6 separate regions of the Homo sapiens genome follow, and all the other regions are linked to region 1. Evidence: promoter capture Hi-C in 16 types of primary human blood cells and fetal thymus (Javierre and others, 2016). All regions are on one chromosome and are shown on one strand. Each heading gives the region's core, a stretch centred on a gene start or on the middle of the fragment in contact. The rest is flanking DNA. Distances are from core to core; before and after follow the strand shown.

The links. Contacts are between HindIII fragments. The CHiCAGO score rates a contact against its expected background, and 5 or more counts as called.
Region 2: a fragment that was not itself captured here is called in contact with the fragment with the promoter of AHSG in region 1 in 6 of 17 cell types (naive CD8 T cells, activated CD4 T cells, total CD8 T cells and 3 more); the score reaches 9.4 in naive CD8 T cells.
Region 3: a contact is called between a fragment that was not itself captured here and the fragment with the promoter of AHSG in region 1, in 3 of 17 cell types (activated CD4 T cells, total CD4 T cells and naive CD4 T cells). The highest score is 7.0, in activated CD4 T cells.
Region 4: a contact is called between a fragment that was not itself captured here and the fragment with the promoter of AHSG in region 1, in 11 of 17 cell types (activated CD4 T cells, non-activated CD4 T cells, naive CD4 T cells and 8 more). The highest score is 13.3, in activated CD4 T cells.
Region 5: a fragment that was not itself captured here is called in contact with the fragment with the promoter of AHSG in region 1 in 2 of 17 cell types (total B cells and naive B cells); the score reaches 5.9 in total B cells.
Region 6: a contact is called between a fragment that was not itself captured here and the fragment with the promoter of AHSG in region 1, in 1 of 17 cell types (activated CD4 T cells). The highest score is 5.0, in activated CD4 T cells.

What each region holds. Positions count from the first base shown.
Region 1 is chr3:186,611,439-186,614,448 of GRCh38, forward strand. AHSG (alpha 2-HS glycoprotein) reads left to right here and starts at 1,622. Exons shown (of 7, transcript NM_001622.4): 1 at 1,622-1,916. The coding sequence starts at 1,704. The HindIII fragment of the contact is 5,898 bases long and covers 437-3,010 here.
Region 2 is chr3:185,907,733-185,910,742 of GRCh38, forward strand. No RefSeq gene overlaps it. Among named protein-coding and RNA genes, the nearest start is that of TRA2B, 29 kb to the right of the region's middle. The HindIII fragment of the contact is 3,858 bases long and covers 1-3,010 here.
Region 3 is chr3:185,927,096-185,930,105 of GRCh38, forward strand. All of the region lies in intron 1 of TRA2B (transformer 2 beta homolog), which reads right to left. Among named protein-coding and RNA genes, the nearest start is that of TRA2B, 9.4 kb to the right of the region's middle. The HindIII fragment of the contact is 1,185 bases long and covers 920-2,104 here.
Region 4 is chr3:185,944,335-185,947,344 of GRCh38, forward strand. No RefSeq gene overlaps it. Among named protein-coding and RNA genes, the nearest start is that of TRA2B, 7.8 kb to the left of the region's middle. The HindIII fragment of the contact is 4,953 bases long and covers 1-3,010 here.
Region 5 is chr3:187,189,018-187,192,027 of GRCh38, forward strand. No RefSeq gene overlaps it. Among named protein-coding and RNA genes, the nearest start is that of RTP1, 7.0 kb to the right of the region's middle. The HindIII fragment of the contact is 2,953 bases long and covers 1-2,950 here.
Region 6 is chr3:186,063,210-186,066,219 of GRCh38, forward strand. It overlaps ETV5 (ETS variant transcription factor 5), which reads right to left. Exons shown (of 13, transcript NM_004454.3): 8 at 2,604-2,863; 9 at 1,208-1,267. Among named protein-coding and RNA genes, the nearest start is that of ETV5-AS1, 14 kb to the right of the region's middle. The HindIII fragment of the contact is 1,040 bases long and covers 1,083-2,122 here.

The sequences.
Region 1 (3,010 bases), core at 372-2,871:
TGGGCTCAATCTCTAGGCCTCGTGATCTGCCCACCTCAGCCTCCCAAAGTGCTGGAATTACAGGTGTGAACCACCGTGCCCAGCCCTTCAATATTTTTAAAGATTATATAAAGAAAAGCATAGCTTCCACACACAGTTCAGGAGTCAGGGCCCTGAGTGAAATGGAGTATAAGGTGATGGAAGATTGCCCCTGGCTTTGAGGATCATCTTGCTGGATGACCAGAGTTTGTTTTTCATCTGGAAGAATCATGGTCCCCCTCTTGGAGAGAACCTGGAGTCCTGGCCACACCTTCTGAGCTTCTGACATTAAGATTCGGTGTGGTGTGTGAGCAGCTGGGAGTAAATGTGAGAACAGTCCTGCCAACTACCTTCTCTGCCCCATCACCACTCACTTCACCTCCCTCACCCCGATTCTCACCCCAGAAAATCAATATTAAGCTTCCCTTTGGAGGGGCCCCTCTTCTTTCTTTTTTTTTTAACCAGTTTTTTTTTCTCTGAAGCAATATCAAACATTAGAACAAATTCACCCACACACAATGATGGCCTCTAAATATTTGAAGACCATGTTGGTCTCCATGAGAGGGCTTCTTTGCTTCAGACTAAACCAAACCAGGTCCTTGTGTGATATTTCCCAAGCCTCTCTTTATCCTGCCAACCCTCCTTGGATGTCACACTTGGAATTGTCAAGGGTCACTTAATAGGCAGTGCCTGGAGTCAACACTGGCCCTCTGTTCTGGCCAGAAAGACACACTGTAATTCTGCTGAGTCTGCAAAGAATGTTCAAGGGGTATTTGTGTCCGTAGCTGCTCGTGCAGCATCTCAGCCTGCGGTGTCAGACTCGAACCCAGAGCTGTGTCAAATGAGTCAGGACTCCCCTCTGCTGCCCTTGTGCACTGGCAGGGGCACTAGGTTACTAGTGCTAGGAGACTCTGGTCAGTGCCCATCTGTGCTGTCACATGCAGGGCCCTGGCAGTGAGGTCTGGAGAAGGAAGAGAAGGGGCAGGGAACCCCACACGTTTTGCTGGTCATTTCCCACCGTGGTCCTGCCACGGGAACCCCCTTCTTCCACCTCCATTCCCCACTTTAGGCAGAAACATCTCTCATCCTTTTTCTTTTCTCCAAGAATCTTCCCCCAAAATCTTGGCATCTCCTATACACATCTGTACCTTTGCTATATCTGTGGGCCTTGTTCTCCCTGTAGGACTCCTCTTGGAAAGCTAACTCCCCCTGACATTGGAGAATTTTATCAAATTGCTGAGTATCCTCCCTTCCCTCTCACAGACCCCATGGCATGCTCAGATCACAGTAGAAGACATTTCCTCTGCTGCCAAACCCATGGCACTCTGAGGCTGACTGTGTCCACCTCATTCCCTCAGCTGTCTTCTCTTTGCTGCTATTACCATGTTCCAAGCAGACTTTGGAGCATCTCCCCCACAGCAGCATGGACTTTGGCAGATTTCTTGGGGACCAGCGATGTCCTAACCTGTTTGCTTTTCCAGGGCTGATGTTTGCAGGGTGTTTTTTTTTTTCTTTTGAACCAAAGCAGAAATCATCCTGTATCCTTATGCAATTCTTCCGGCAGGCTCCAACAGATAAATAAAGCCCACCACCCTCCATGGGTCTACCTTTCCCAGCAGAGCACCTGGGTTGGTCCCGAAGCCTCCAACCACCTGCACGCCTGCCAGGGCCTCTCTGGGGCAGCCATGAAGTCCCTCGTCCTGCTCCTTTGTCTTGCTCAGCTCTGGGGCTGCCACTCAGCCCCACATGGCCCAGGGCTGATTTATAGACAACCGAACTGCGATGATCCAGAAACTGAGGAAGCAGCTCTGGTGGCTATAGACTACATCAATCAAAACCTTCCTTGGGGATACAAACACACCTTGAACCAGATTGATGAAGTAAAGGTGTGGCCTCAGGTAAGTGGACCTGCTGTCTATGAGCTGAAATAATGTGTACATGGAGCTCAATCAGGTGCCTCAAAAAATCACCATCACCCAGTGCAAATGAAACCACAGAGGAGTAAATTCTCTGATTTCTTCCCAGGAGTGAGGGAAGGGGCAGGCAGAGGGCAGGAGAGGAGACATTCTGTATGGCAGTCATGGGTGTCAGGAGGGAGCTGGGTGGGGTGTGAGGTGGTGTGCAGGAGAAAAAGTGCTTCAAATGGTAGTGTGCAGATCACAGACAGAAAGTGTAACTTGCTGGAAAAACTAGGACCCAAGAGACCAGCTCCTAGTTGCCAAGTTACCACTGGCTGAAAATCACGTATCTGTCTTTGGTTTGGTTTCTCTCTAACAAAGACTGAGAATGAATAAAACTAGCATCTGGCAGATGCCTACTATATGCCAGGCCCATTCACATAGATTATCTCATTTACTCTTTCCCGGTCCTGCCTCCTGGTGCTGTGTGGTACATATATTGTTCTTGTCTTACCCAAGAGGAGACCAAGGCTCTGTTGTGTGTGTGTGTGCAGTTTTTTTGTTTTTTGTTTTTGTCTTTTTTTTTTTGGTCCAAAATCATATAATTACTAAGTCTTCAGGCTGGGATTTGATTCCATATCTGTGTTCCTTCTTCTACACAAACTGCCTCCCAAAGAGAGTTACCCACATCCCAGAGAGAAGTCTTGGCATAAACACAATTCACCTCCTCACACACTAGACAGGAAACCAACGCAGCTTGAAGCCAGTGACAAGAAAAATCAAGCTGGAAATATGCCTCGGGGATCAGTCAAGAGATTTGGAGAGGTGGAAAGAAGCTGTCTGCCTACTGCCTGTTTTGAAATTAGATTTATTTCTGATTAAGGACAATTCTTTCAGCAAATATGTATTACAAGCCTTCCTTGGACAAGAACCAGAGATATTAGGTTGAACCATATAAAACTGCCATTTTTCTATATCAAAAGCAACCAAATATTGGCCGTTTTAATGGTTCAACCTAATACAGTGGTGAAAAAGGCACAATATGTGCCCACAAGAGCTTACAATCTAGGTTGGAAAATAAGGTCAACAACAGG
Region 2 (3,010 bases), core at 129-2,628, 700 kb before region 1:
CTGCCTCAGCCTCCTGAGTAGCTGGGACTACAGGTGTATACCACCACACCCGGCTAATTTTTGTATTTTTAGTAGAGACAGGGTTTCACCATGTTGGCCAGGGTGGTCTTGAACTCCTGATCTCAAGTGATCCGCCCACCTCGGCCTCCCAAAGTGCTGGGATTGCAGGCATGAGCCACCACGCCCAGCCTATTTCTTTCTTTTAAAAGACAGAGTTTCCTTATATTGCCCAGGCTGGTCTCGAACTACTGGGCTCAAGGGATCCTCCTGCCTCAGCCTTCCAAAGTGCTAGGATTACAGGTGTCAGCCACCACTCCTGGCCCTACTCTCTTAATAGTGTTTTTAGGTGACTGGAAGTGCTTAACAGCTTTATTAAGATGAAATCCGTCTGCTTAAAGTGCAAAATTCCATCGCTTTTAGTATATTTACAAAGTTAAGTGACCATCACTACAATCAGTTTTAGAATATTTTTCCTCAGGCCCAAAGTGACTGCCATACCTATTAGCAGTCACTTCCCCTTCCTCCTGCAAATTGCCGTGCCTAGGAAACTACTAGTCTACTTTCTCTGCATAGAACTCTCTGTTCTGCATATTTCATATATATTAAATCATGTAATATATGGTCTTTTGTGACTGGTTCCTTTCACTTAAAATGTTTTGAAGGTTCATTCATGTCAGCATGTATCATTACTTCATTCCTTTTTATTGCCAAATAATATTCCATTGTATAGATATATCACTTTATTTATTTATTTATTTATTTATTTATTTATTTATTGAGACGGAGTCTCGCTCTGTCGCCCAGTCCGGAGTGCAGTGGCGCGATCTCGGCTCACTGCAAGCTCTGCCTCCCAGGTTCACGCCATTCTCCTGCCTCAGCCTTTGGAGTAGCTGGGACTACAGGCGCCCGCCACCGCACCCGGCTAATTTTCTGTATTTTTAGTAGAGACGGGGTTTCACCATGTTAGCCAGGATGGTCTCGATCTCCTGGCCTTGTGATCCGCCCGTCTCATCCTCCTAAAGTGCTGTGATTACGGGCGTGAGCCACCGCGCCCGGCCCGGATATATCACATTTTATTAATCAATTCATCAGCTGAAGGAACATTTGGGGTGTTTCTGTTTTTCGGCTATCACTAATAATGCTGCTATGAACATCCACGTACAAATTTTTGTGTGAACCTATGTTTACGATTTTTTGGGTATAAACCCAGGAGTAGAATTGCTGAGTTGTATGGTAATTCTATGTTTAACTTTTACTTATTTATTATTTTTTTGAGACAGAATCTTGCTCTGTCTCCCAGGCTGGGGTGCAGTGGCATGATCTGGCTCACTGCAAACCCCGCCTCCCAGGTTCAAGTGATTCTCCTGCCTCAGCCTCCCGAGTAGCTGGGACTACAGGCACGCACCACCACGCCCTGCTAGGTTTCTTTTTTGTACTTTAGTAGAGATGGGGTTTCACCATGTTGGCCAGGCTGGTCTCGAACTCCTGGCCTCAAGTGATCCGCCTGCCTCAGCCTTCCAAAGTACTGGGATTAGAGGCTTCAGCTATCACCAGTAACTTCTATAAAGCTCAACAAAGGTAAAGTCAAGGGCAAATCTTCTCCCTCAAACCAACTTCTTTCTTTCTTCTCATTTTTAACAGGGCCACTGCGAGCGGCCAGGAGCCCAGGCTCGCAGTCAGCAACTCTTCCTTTCCCATTAACTCCCATAGTCTTTCACAAATTCCTATTTGTCCTTTTTTCCAAATGCCTCTTGCATTTTTTTGAAATGTAACAATTTATTGATCAATATAAATGAAATAAAATTTAGAATTTATTTCCAACTTTGCTATATTGCATAGTAACGAGACTCCATCTCAATAATTATGAATTTCCATATCTAAATCCAAAGATTCTTAGATTTGTAAGAATTTGGAAGTTATTTTCTATCCTCCCATTTTATAGAAAAGCAAACCAATGCCTGGAAAATTAGGCATATTTTAAACGGTCTTACATTAATTAATTGTAAAGAGAGTAATATAATGAAGTCTCCTGTCTTCTAGACAAGTGTATTTTTTTTTTATTTATTTAAGTTCTAGGGTACATGTGCACAACGTGCAGGTTTGTTACATATGTATATATGTTCCATGTTGGTGTACTGCATCCATTAACTCATTTACATTACGTATATCTCCTAATGCTACCCCTCCACCCTCCCCCAACCCCATGACAGGCCCCGGTGTATGATGTTCCCCTTCCTGTGTCCAAGTGTTCTCATTGTTCAGTTCCCACCTATGAGTGAGAACGTGTGGTGGTTTTTTGTCCTTGCAATAGTTTGCTGAGAATGATGGTTTCTAGCTTCATGCATGTCCCTACAGAGAACATGAACTCATCCGTTTTTATGGCTGCATAGTATTCCATGGTGTATATGTGCCACATTTTCTTAATCCAGTCTATCATTGATGGACATTTGGGTTGGTTCCAAGTCTTTGCTGTTGTGAATAGTACTACAATAAACATACATGTACATGTGTCTTTATAGCAGCATGATTTATAATCCTTTGGGTATATACAGTAATGGGATGGCGGGGTCAAATGGTATTTCTAATTCTAGATCCTTGAGGAATTACCACACTCTTCCACAATGGTTGAACTAGTTTACAGTCCCACCAACAGTGTAAAAGTGTTCCTATTTCTCCACATCCTCTTCAGCACCTTTGTTTCCTGACTTTTTAAAGATCGCCATTCTAACTGGTGTGAGATGGTATCTCATTGTGGTTTTGATTTGCATTTCTCTGATGGCCAGTGCATTTCTTACTTTTCTCTCACTCCCTCTGCCTTCATCCTAGGCCAGAGCCTGCCCCTGGGCTGGGCTCCCTATAGACCCTTTTCTAAATTATCGTTCTACTCCATTCATCTATTCCTTCATTCATCAGAAGAGCATCTGTGGAGCACTTAGTGCCAGACACTGCGCTAGACACTAGATGCACCCGTAACACAGACATGGTCCAGCTGGGGAGGCAGGTAATTGAC
Region 3 (3,010 bases), core at 262-2,761, 680 kb before region 1:
TTTATACCTATTTCAATCAAGTTGCAATCAATAAAACAAAATCCTATATAATTTATATAATTTACTTAAAAAAATGCTTGATTTTTAAAAAGACCTTGACCTTTCAAGTTACTACTTATAATTCAGTGATAAGAGATAAAGATGATGATCTCAGTTTCAAATCCTAGAGAAAAGCAGAAACCTAGTGGAAAGCAAAGGCTAGCTTGAAGGACACTAAACCCTGTAAAACCCTATTGCATCTAACCATGGTGGGAGGCCCCCTAAAAAACTGAAAGCAACCAGATGGAGCTACAACAGAACAGCGAACTACACACAAATAAGAGTAGAGAGGGTGTCAGAGATCCTCCACAGCTTCTCCAGCTAAATGGAGATGAGCCAGGGCAAACTTATGGAAAACCAGGAATTAACCTAACTTACCTAGTTACTTAAGTACACATCAAAACCAGGCAGCTAAATCAGGAGCTCCTAACCTAGGGCCCAGGAAGCAAAAGAGTACAGAAACTACATACAAAAGCCAAAGTTTAGGTAAACATTGTGTACTCATAGCTTTCCCAACCAAAACTGGGATTGGCTGGCAGGTTAAGGGGGGATTTGTAATGAAAAATAGCAAAGGAATGGTAACCAGGATAACTAGGTCACCAACGAGCTAAAGACACATAATCAACAAAAGGGTATACTAAGTAATGAAACCAAGGAAAAGTTCTGCCAAGGCACCAAAACAGTAGATGAGGAAAGGACAGAACCTACTCCTAGTCAGTCTGATAGCTAGGTAAAATTATCAAGGCAACCTTTATTTTAGGTTATCAAACTTAGACAAAGTAAAGCCTGGTAAGCCTTTCTACTCCAGAGAGCAGAAATGGCAAGACTCAAAAGGAAGCAGTATTACAGTAAGTCACTATATGGCATGAATCAAAGGTGAAGCTTTCAGATAAAATCACAAGAGATTTCCTTGTGTGATACATCTTCAGAGTATTCTGGACATTCTTGAAAGGACAGTAGAGGATTATTCTAAATTACAGCTCAAAACACTTTAGAAGATAGTTTTGTGGTTTACAACATAATGGAGAAAATTTGGATGATCCTTTGATGCTCAGGGAAAACATTTATAATGTAACACAGAATAGACAAATTAAGGTTTGAGGTTTAACACAGAAGGAAAGGCTAACTCATCCAGTAAAATGAGTTCAGGTCTCTAGGCCCCAGACGACTCTAGAAACGTTCAAATGACTTCAAAGCCATTATAAAACATGGTGGGGTGACATGAAATGTGACAGCCTTTCCCCTCTACCTCCCTCCATGACTGACTGTAAAAAGATTAAAAGAAAAATATATGAACAGCTGCCTTTAACATCAAGAAATGGTTAAAGGATGTAGTGATGCTCTGGGGCTTCCAATTAACAACAATCCCTTGGAATTCCCTATCAAGTATTCTGAACGGACACTTCCCTTCTCTCCATGGACAAAGGAGGAAGTCTCAAAAATGAGGGTGTAGTTTTTGCTATTTTTACCACAGGCAAAAATTAACATAGGTGAGAATATAGAAATGGGGAACCCAAAAGTTGCTAAAAGCCTGTTTACTCCAACACTAGAAAGATTACCTCTATGGAAATGAAACAATTTTCTCCAGAAGTGAAAGCAGAATATGGGTGTTTCACAGTAACAGTTAAGACTACCAATAAAGTAACTGTAGTTAACAGAAATCAGTCAGCCCAGGAATCTGAGTATAAAGGAAGAATGGGTCAAGTCAAGATCCTCTTTAAGCTCCTGGCTTTAACAGAAAAACCTTTATTCTAAGCTAAGATGCTTCGGCAGCCTGTCCACTGAGGGAAGAGACAGTACTCCTAACCTAGAAAATAAGACTTAATGAAGTTTTCTCCTTAAAATCTAGCAGATCACAGATACAATATTTCTGAAATCACAGGAGTTTTCACTCAGCCTCCAAAACTAACGGACTATGCAGATATATTTTGTAAGCAATCATTTCTTGGGCCAGGAATAAGGGAAATACCAGAATGCAAAGGCTTCCTTTTCTATACTGACACTTGTTTGGGTAACACCTAAACGTCTCGATCCTTTATCAGGGATATTTTCTTAAAGAAGTTAAAGCTTTCTGAAGTTATTTTGGCCATTTAACTGGCTGGGAAATACATATGGCAAGGGAATAAAACTTGCCTACAAGAAATAAGACCTAAAATTAGCACCCAAATCAAAAGCATAATTAACTTTAAATCTCAATGCAGACAGGTAAAGCTATAAAAACCAGTTGGGGAAGTCCCTAAATCTAAGCATACTTCAAATTCCACTCTCAGGGCTGACATGGTCAACACATTAAAACCACACCAACAGACAGAACTGGACACCACTGCCTCAAAAAAAGGGACCATGAAACTAAAATTAGCATGAATAAAACCAAAATTTCCCTGAAAAAATGCTCAGGAAATCAATCAAGCTCTCACAGACTGGATCTCAGCCACATCCTAATACAAAACCTAAAGGGAATACATCAAGTAAAAATACAACACACTTAGCCTTCCAACAAAATAATCCACATCTCCCTATTCTGAGAACAGCAACCACCTTACAAAAACATATTTGAAAGGACTAACCATCCAATCCCTGTATTATTTTAAAAACTGAATGTGGTTTGTTAGATTTAAAATAGTGGCTCATAAACACTGCATCTCTTAAAACACTGTTTATCATACTAGTTAAGTCTGACTTACTTGACTTAGTCAACCTCAGAAGTTACATGCTTCCTACTCATTTTTTTCCCTTGGCAAAGGTTATCTTCCTGAAACACTGTCATCCCCTTCCTTGTTTTGACTCCCCTTAGCATTAATCAGACCTCTGATTAAGGCAGTCTTTCACACACTGCCTGTTCTCAGGAACAGAAGCCGGCCTCCTCCTCATCTTCCCTATGGCCCGAGGAGGAGACACATTAGGACCCACAGATGCTTTGGTCAAGGGGGAAAACAAAAACAAATGGACACAATGGTCCACTAGCAACGTT
Region 4 (3,010 bases), core at 301-2,800, 670 kb before region 1:
TTAGAGCAGTCTGGGGCTCAGGGGATAGCTGGGTGGAATATACGGAAATGAAATTACTAGTATAGAGATAGTCAAGGAAACCTTACTTTGTGTAAGTGAGATCTTCAAGGGAGTGGTGTAGGAGTGCTCTCAGAGAACTAATGCATCTCTGTATAAAAAGTGACTGAACACCCACTCACTACTTGGAAGTATGAATGTGGAAGTCAAAAACTTTGAGACTTCATTAAGGCAGGTCTTCACGAACCAGCTTAGGACTGAGTGGAAATTAAGAACAACATTGAGTTACTATGCTGACTATGGCTACGTATTGTAGATAATTGAGTTGAAACAACCAATCACTTTCAATGTTCTGAACCCTAAAAAAGGTGGATCACCTAAGGTCAGGAGTTCGAGACCAGTCTGGCTAACATTGTGAAACACTGTCTTTACTAAAAAATACAAAAATTAGCCGGGCGTGGTGGTGCATGCCTGTAATCCCAGCTACTCGGGAGGCCAAGGCATGAGAATCACTTGAACCTGGGAGGCAGAGGTTGCAGTGAGCAGACATCGTACCATTACACTCCGGCCTGGGTGACAAGAGTGAAACTCTGTCTCAAAAAAAAAAAAAAAAAAAAAAAAAAAGAGAGAGAGGCCGGGTGCGGTGGCTCACACCTGTAATCCCAGCACTTTGGGAGGCCGAGGTGGGCGGATCATGAGGTCAGGAGATCGAGACCATCTTGGCTAACTCGGTGAAACCCCGTCTCTACTAAAAATACAAAAAATTAGCCGGGCGCCGTGGCGGGCACCTGTAATCCCAGCTACTCAGGAGGCTGAGGCAGGAGAATGGCATGAACCCGGGAGGCGGAGCTTGCAGTGAGCCGAGATAGCGCCACTGCAGTCCGGCCTGGGCGACAAAGCAAGACTCCTTCTCAAAAAAATAAAAAAAAAAAGAGAGAGAGAGAAGAATGAAATAAAAGACTTTCTCCAGATACTTAAGATAAATCTGGGAAAGAGAGGAAGAGAATAAAAATTAGAATACCCAAATAACAAAATTTAGAGCTCAAACATTAAACATATGAAGAAAATGTTTTGTCTTAGAATTATTATTATGTTACTAATATAGGGTGGGGATAAAAATTCAAACAATAAGAAATGTGCAAAGTGAAAAATGCAAACCCTATTTTCTATCCTCTCTTTCCCAGTCTCGCTCCTCAGAGGTCACCCTAGTTAAAAAATGTAGTGCATAACCTTCTAGACCTTAGATAGATAAATTTAAATTTTTATTTTTATTTTTTTATTATTTATTTATTTATTTTGAGACGGAGTCTTGCTGTCTCCCAGGCTGGAGTGCAGTGGCAAGATCTCGGCTCACTGCAAGCTCCGCCTCCCGGGTTCATGCCATTCTCCTGCCTCAGCCTCCCAAGTAGCTGGGACTACAGGTGCCTGCCACCACACCCGGCTAATTTTTTGTATTTTTGGTAGAGATGGGGTTTCACCATGCTAGCCAGGATGGTCTCGATCTCCTGACCTCACGATCCACCCGCCTCGGCCTCCCAAAGTGCTGGGATTACAGGCATGAGCCACTGAGCCCAGCCTTAAAATTTTCTTTTCATAAACAAATGGAATCATGCTATACATATTTTTTATTTTTTAATTTTTATTTATTATTTTTTTGAGACAGAGTCTCACTCTGTTGCTCAGGCTGTTGTCTCGAACTCCTGACTTCAGGTGACCCACCCGCCTCAGCATCCCAAAGTGCTGGGATTGCAGGCATGAGCCACCATGCCCCGCTCATATTTTTAAATTTTAACATGGTATTCTGTAACTTGCCTTTTTCACTTAGCAATCTAAAATATGCTAAATATTGTTCCACGTCAGTACACATAGATTTATCTCATATTTTAAAACAGTTGTATGGTATTCCGTTGCAAATATGTGCCATAACCTATTATACCATTCCTATTTATGGAGACCTGGAGGGTGAGAAGCCAGCCATTTAAAAAGCAGAGAAAACTGTGTTCCTGGGAAGGGATTAGCAAGGTCACAAAGGCACTGGGGTGAGGATGTTTGTCGGGTTCCAGGAACAGAGAGACCCAACCATGGGATCCCAGTGGGTCCATCTGAGGACCAGAGACTGTGGTACAGAGAGCAGGGCTTGGACTTCCTGGGGTTGTTTCCTGCCTCCACAGTAGCTCTCTGAGAGACCCTGGGCAAGTGTAACCTCTGTGCCTCTGTGGCTTCATCTGTGAAATAGGAATGATAATAATACCTACTTCCTATGCTTGTTGTCAGGATCCAAAGAATTACTATTTTACATAAAAAGCCCTTAGAACAATGTCTAACTCATAATAAGTCAGCAGTGATTATGCAGGTCATGGAAAGGATGTCAGATGTTATTTAAGTGCAGTGGGGGCTGGGCACGGTGGTTCACACCTGTAATTCCAGCACTTTGGGAGGCCAAGGCAGGTGGATGGGTCACTTGAAGTCAGGAGTTCGAGACCAGCCTGGCCAACATGGCGAAACCCCGCCTCTATTAAAAAAATACAAAAATTAGCCAGGCGTGGTGGCAGGCACCTGTAACCCCAGCTACTCGGAAAGCTGAGGCAGGAGAATCTCTTGAACCCGGGAGGCAGAGGTTGCAGTTAGCCAAGATCGTGCCACTGCACTCCAGCCTGGGCAATAGAGTGAGACTTTGCCTCAAAAATAAATAAATAATTAAATAAATGCAATGGGAAGCTATCGAAATGTTTTAATTAGGGGGAATGTCTTGACTCAGTTTTTATTTTTATAAGATTACATTCCCCATTGGATGGAGAATGGGTTGGAAGGAGGTAAAAGCTAGGATACCAGTTAGGAAGCTATTGCATTTGTCCAGGTAAGAGACCATTGCAACACAGTAATAGCAAAGGAGATAGAGAAAAAAGGGCAGTGGTAGATCTATTTTGAGTCCAGAATTGAGTGGACTTGTAATAGGGTAAGGGGATGGAGATGTCAAGAACTCAAGAGGGTCTATGGTGCCCCATACTGAGAT
Region 5 (3,010 bases), core at 224-2,723, 580 kb after region 1:
TTTCATGTTTAAAGACTAAAACAAGCCAGTGGTGTTCTGCCAATGCAGAATTTCACAACTTATAAACATAGGCTTTAATAGTGGTAACAATAAAACCACAACACCCCTTTCACTTCCCAAAAGTAGTCAATATTAACTGCCTGCTTACTGTGGGCTGGCACGTTGTTAAGTGCTTTCTATTGCAAGGCACAGAGAGTCAAGGTTTTGAAAGTGAGATGGTGGCACTCAGTAAAGAAGAGCTTCTTAATAGCCAGGGGTTAGAGAGTGCTGCTATCACTGGATAACGAGCTCCACATCACTGGAAATGTTCACATTCAGGCTAGGTAACTGCTTGGCTCTCAATAGGCATTGGTTATTACTTCAATTTCAGAGGCAACCCTAATCCCAGATCACTGGGTCTGTCTAAAGATAGACAGTGAAGTCTCCTCATTCTATATGAAGAACCATCTTCTCACTAAATTAAAATCTGATTATTTTATACCTATTTATGTCTTCATATGAAATGTCTCAGAGTCACTGGCACATCTGATTAGGATTAGACTAGATAATTTCCAAGATCCCTTTTACTCCATAATTCTGTTCTATACATCTTTGTATTTTCAGGTCATATGGTAGAGACTCAGCCAAAGTGACTGAATGCAAATGTGATTCAGGTTTATTCTGTGGCCACTGTGAAATACACATCTGCTGTCCAGAGCGGTTTCCTCTCATTTGCAAAAGAGAGGACCAAGTTTTCTTGTTTTATTGCTTTTCTTGGAAAGATCATGCTCAGAAGGAGGGCAAGTGTGCATCAGAATGGATTTTTTTCTACTCCTTCCTCCACTTTCTTTCTTTCTTTTTACCCTAGTGAGTAGAGGTCTTTGATATAATAGAATAAAGGGACATAAACTTTGTTAGCATAGTAAGAAATGACAGCTATGCAATGGAATGTGGTCAGTATTAGTGGGAGAAAGGTTATTAGCTTATAGATACTCTACACCGAAGGTTGAAGCAAGGTCCTGAAGAGAAAGTAGAAGAGCAGAAGAGATCAAAGAGAAGACCTAGAAAGGAGACCAGAAAAAATAAGGGGAAGTTCTGGACATGCATTCTAGGTGGACTCTCAGTGGACCTATTGGAGATTTGATGGAAGAGTAAAGGAAAGTTGTGTCCTGTCTTCTGAACTCCATGAGTATGCCATTCAACCACAGTAAGACGGTCTGATAATGTACAGTGACTTCATTTCCTACTAGACCTTCCATGAAATGTTATTAGGGTTGAACGGTTGCATATCTTTCCAAAACTGCTTCAGGAAGAATCTCTTGGGGGTACAGTCTGAAGATACGTTCCCATAATAGTGGCTGCTTGGCAACAGGAACATGCTTAAGGGTCAGTCTTCATGTCCTAAGCCAAAGGCTCTGGGTTAGTGTGGGTCACCTGGCTATTGATGTTCACTGGACATGAAATGAGTGAGACTAATTTATCTCTATATCCCATGTGTCCAGTATAGAGCCTGGCACATGGTAGTTGATAATTCAGAGTGTTTTAAAAAACAAATAAATGAATAACATTGTTGCTTCCCCACATGTAATGTTGCCTTGCCCCTTCTTCAGAATAAGGGGAAGGAAGCTGTCTTTTATTTTAGATCAAATATCCTGAAAATAGGGAAATTAGTTTTTGAGGACTTGATAATTTCTCTCAAGTATGCCCTTCTTCACTTCCTGGACCATGGCACTGTTCCCTTGGTAATATCCATAGAACATTTTCTGATGAATGCTCTTCTCAAAGACAAGATCTTGCACTTGAAAAAAAAAAAAAAAGCAGAGAGACTGGGCAGTAGTGCATGCCTGTAGTCTTAGAACTTTGGGAGGCTGAGGTGGGAAGATCACGTGAGCCCAGGAGTTTGAGACCAGCCGAGGCAACACAGTGAGACCCTACCTCTACAAAAAAAAAAAAAAAAAAAAAAAAAAAAAAAAAAAATTAAAAAATCAGCTGATCATGATGGTGCATGCCTGTAGTTCCAGTTATTTGGGAGGCTGATGTGGGTGGATCACTTGAGCCCAGGAGATCGAGGCTGCAGTGAACCATGATTGAACCACTGCACTCCAGTCTGAGTGACAGAGTGAGACCCTGTCTCAAAAAACAAACATAGAAAAAACAAAACACATAGACTGGGCACAGTGATGTGTGCCTATAATTCCAGCTACTCAGGAGGCTGAAAAGGAGGATTGCTTGAGCCTGAGAGCTCAAGAGTAACTTGGGCAACATAGACAGAACCCATCTCTGAAAAAAAAAAACACAGAGTTTTATGGGGATAAAACTTCAAGAGAATGAAGACTGGGGGACTTTGGATTTTGGGCTGTATATCTCTGAAGGGCCCTCGCTGATGGTAGGCACATATGCCTCACAAAATTGAGCAAGAGCTTGGAAAAGAAGTTCAATGGTTGCTGTTGGGGTGGAGGGGAAGCAAAGGAAGAGGTTCTTATAAATCATGACTGGGCATGCAGAGGTGGGTGGTACTGGCAGGCTGGGTACCTGTAATGCTTTCCTTTGCTTTGACCCAAAGGGAGCAGCCCTACTGTTCCTATCTGGCTATGTTTTGGGATTGGACTTGCTGGATTAGTTTACTCTTTGGCTACTTTGCCTTTTTGATCCTTAGTTTGCTTTTTTTTTTTTTTTTTTTTGCAAAATAATGTCAACCTCTACCTACATCATAGAATTGGACATCGTGTTCTCAAGGCACTAAGCTCTTTGAAGGATGAAGAAAAATAATCAGGTACTGTGGTAGAAAGTCTCCAAAGATGGCTGCCACCAATTCCTTCCCTTCCTATAGGCACAGGCAATTTCCCCATCAAGAGTTGAAGTTTATTTCCCATTCCCCTATATCGGGCTGGCCCTGTGATTGCTTTCATCAACAGAATATGACAGGAGTGATGTTATGGGACTTCTGACTCTAGCCTTAAGGAGGACTGGAAGCTTCCATTTATTCTTCCTAGAATGAATCTTCTTGGAAACAAACTACCATGTAGTGAAG
Region 6 (3,010 bases), core at 353-2,852, 550 kb before region 1:
CAGTGAGCGGAGATCATGCCACTGCACTCCAGCCTGGGCAACAGAGCGAGACTCCGTCTCAACAACAACAACAACAAAAAAAGATGAAAAAAAGCAAGCTCCTCCAAGAAACTGACATTCTAGCTCCATTCTGACCACTTCCTTGAAGCCATATGCTATGGAACACTTATGCATCTTATTTGTTCCCAATTACTTTCACCCTAATTAGTAGGTCAGCACTAATGAAGGCAAAGTCACAGGCTCAACCTTGCCTACTGCTCCTGCTCCTAATTAGAGTGAGATGATCTCAGAGACTTACTGAATTAAGTTGGTCCCAAAGGGATAGGGCACAAGAACTTGAGCAGACAGCATACACCCTTGATATAAAACGATCATCTTCACATAAAAATAAATGTTAGGATATGTGATAATCCAGGCTTGTGGGTAAACTGCTTTATATCTGTTCTCATGTTTCTCCTTTGAGGTATTTTTTAAAAATCCAATGAGAAAACATTTGTGTCCTTCAATAATGCATTTTGTACATAACATACCTCTCCACTCCCATCCCCAGTACTCCCTACCCCCTGCTAGCTCACTTCCCCACCAGCCCCCTCAAGGTTGGTGAAGAATACCTTCAATTTCCCTCCCATGTTAAAAATGGCAACCATTTATCATATAATAATAATTACAATGAAGAGTTACCCACCCAAGCACTCAAACTAAGTAAAAAACCTAGAGACACATTTTTAAAACTCTAAGACATCCTTGGACCCTCACTGACATAACTGTAAAACATATAAAAACCACCCTCACTGACATAACTCCTAAATTCCAGTTTCAGCTGATAGTGTTATATAAACATAACCTCCATTTCTGGAAATGTGGAAATAAGGTGGGTTTGTTTTTTCTCCAAATTGTCCTATACTGTTAAAAAGTTGGGGTCATTGCTAATGAAAATGGCAGCCCTCACAGGGCTTAGGGGCATGCTTGAAACCCTGCGTGCAAAATAATTGAAGATTACAATCAATCAGCTCTCATATTCATGAGCTAAGCAAGGTTTAAACTATGATCTCAAATCTTAGCCTGGAAACTGAGCAATTTTAAGCTTGGGTATTAGTCAAGCAAAGAAAGAGGAAGGAAGGAAGGTAGGAGAAAGAAAAGCCGAGAGAAAGAAAGGAAGAAAGGAGAGGAGAGAGGAGAGAAGAGGAAAGAAAAGCAGGTTCCTTACCTTCATGGCTGCTGGAGAAATAACCCCCTCTCATGTAGGATGACTGGCAGTTAGGCACTTCTGAAAGGAAAGCAAAGGTGGACACAATCCTGTCAATAGTTTCTGCAGCAGAAACAGCACATCGGTCAACTGCAGCTCTGTGGTAAAGCCCCTAAACTTCCTGCTCTGGGGTCATGTCTTTCTGGCTTTGTCCTGGGAAAGAGGTGCCACACCAATAAGCAAGATGGCAAACACCATAACCCACCAGCTGAAAGGCAGGCTCTCCTAATCAAGAGTCACGGGAGGAAAAAAAAGATGTTTCACTCTCATTGTTCACTTATTTTAGAAATGTGTTAACACTAAATCTGGTGAAAGAGCCAATGGCAGGGGAAAAAATACTGGCTTTCAAAAGGCCAAGCCTGGCCTCTTGCCCATGCTGACTCCTGGGTGTTAGGGTGGGAACGGGAAGAGGACTGCTTTAGATCTTTTCTAATTTGCTCCCCTTTACTGCTGGTGGTCACATCTAATTTTGCTCCAACAGGTGGGAGTATTTTTAGGCCAAAGGGATTAGGGGACCTGAAGTTAGGAAGCCAGGACCAGCATTGGAAGGGGTAGAGGATTGCAGTTTGGTCCATTTTTGCCATGCTGGGGCTGTCATACTGAAACCAAACCACACTCAAGTGATCTCTTCTTCAGCCATCATGTTATCAGTGTCCATCGAGACGAAAGACAGTAATTTGAGTTGTGTCCATGTGGGATGAGCCATCACCCTGGCAATACAACTCAGATCAAAGAATTACAGATATGGTAACCTCTGTTGAGTGTCTTGCTTTAAGGGAGTGGAGTGGGGTGCAAAACCCATCAGGACAGATCAAAATGTCAGTCTTAAAGGAAAAAATGTTGCTGTTCATGCTACTCCTGAGAAAAATACATCAAAGCTTTCCAGAGGAATGCTGATGGAAATGTTTACACACGATCACTACCTCACACTTGGTAATTTTTCTGTCATAAAGCAACAGGTCTCTCCCTTCTGCCTATTTCCTCAGCATTTCCCATAACCAACTGGTGCCTGAATAGATCAATCTATGTATTATCTCAGAGAAGGTCGAGCAAATTCCATCCAAAACTGAACCCCAACACTCTCCAGGCTTGGACTCAGAGATGTACTTCATACCACTTCTGAATGCCTACCGCACTTCCTACCACTTACATAGCTTTTCTGTTTTGTTTTGTATTCCATTGCGCATAAACATGTCAGCTCTACTAGCTCCTAAGTTATTTGAGGGCAATTCTTATAAAAATTATAAAAAATTCTTATAAAAATTCCTGTCCCCAAGGCCCTGCATGTATAAGACACTGAATAACGAGACAGAAGAATGCAAGAATGAAGCAAAGAATAGCACAATTTGATGCTGACCTGAATCGACGCAGTAATCCCGAGGCTCCTGCTTGATTCCCATTGGTGACTGGAACCCGTGTGCTGGGGGCCCTGGCATGCCCGGGACCCCATGTTCATAGAGTGGGTCATGGTATTCTTGTTTGAATCCCTGAGGGGGCGGGGGAGCTGCAGGGACAATAGGTTCTGACATTTGCCGATGGTAACTGGGGCGATTATCTCCAGGAACTCCTGGCTGAGGAGGGAAGGGGTGGCAGGGTTCAGACAGTTGTCTCTGAAATCTGTAAGAAGAAAGAGGTTTTCATGTTGAACAAAGACTTGATGAATTCCTACTATGATTGAGCACTGGGGACTAGAAGTTCCAATTAATGAAATTATTTGCAAAGTACTTAATAATGCTTATTTCTGGGCATTTTACCCTCTTCCCA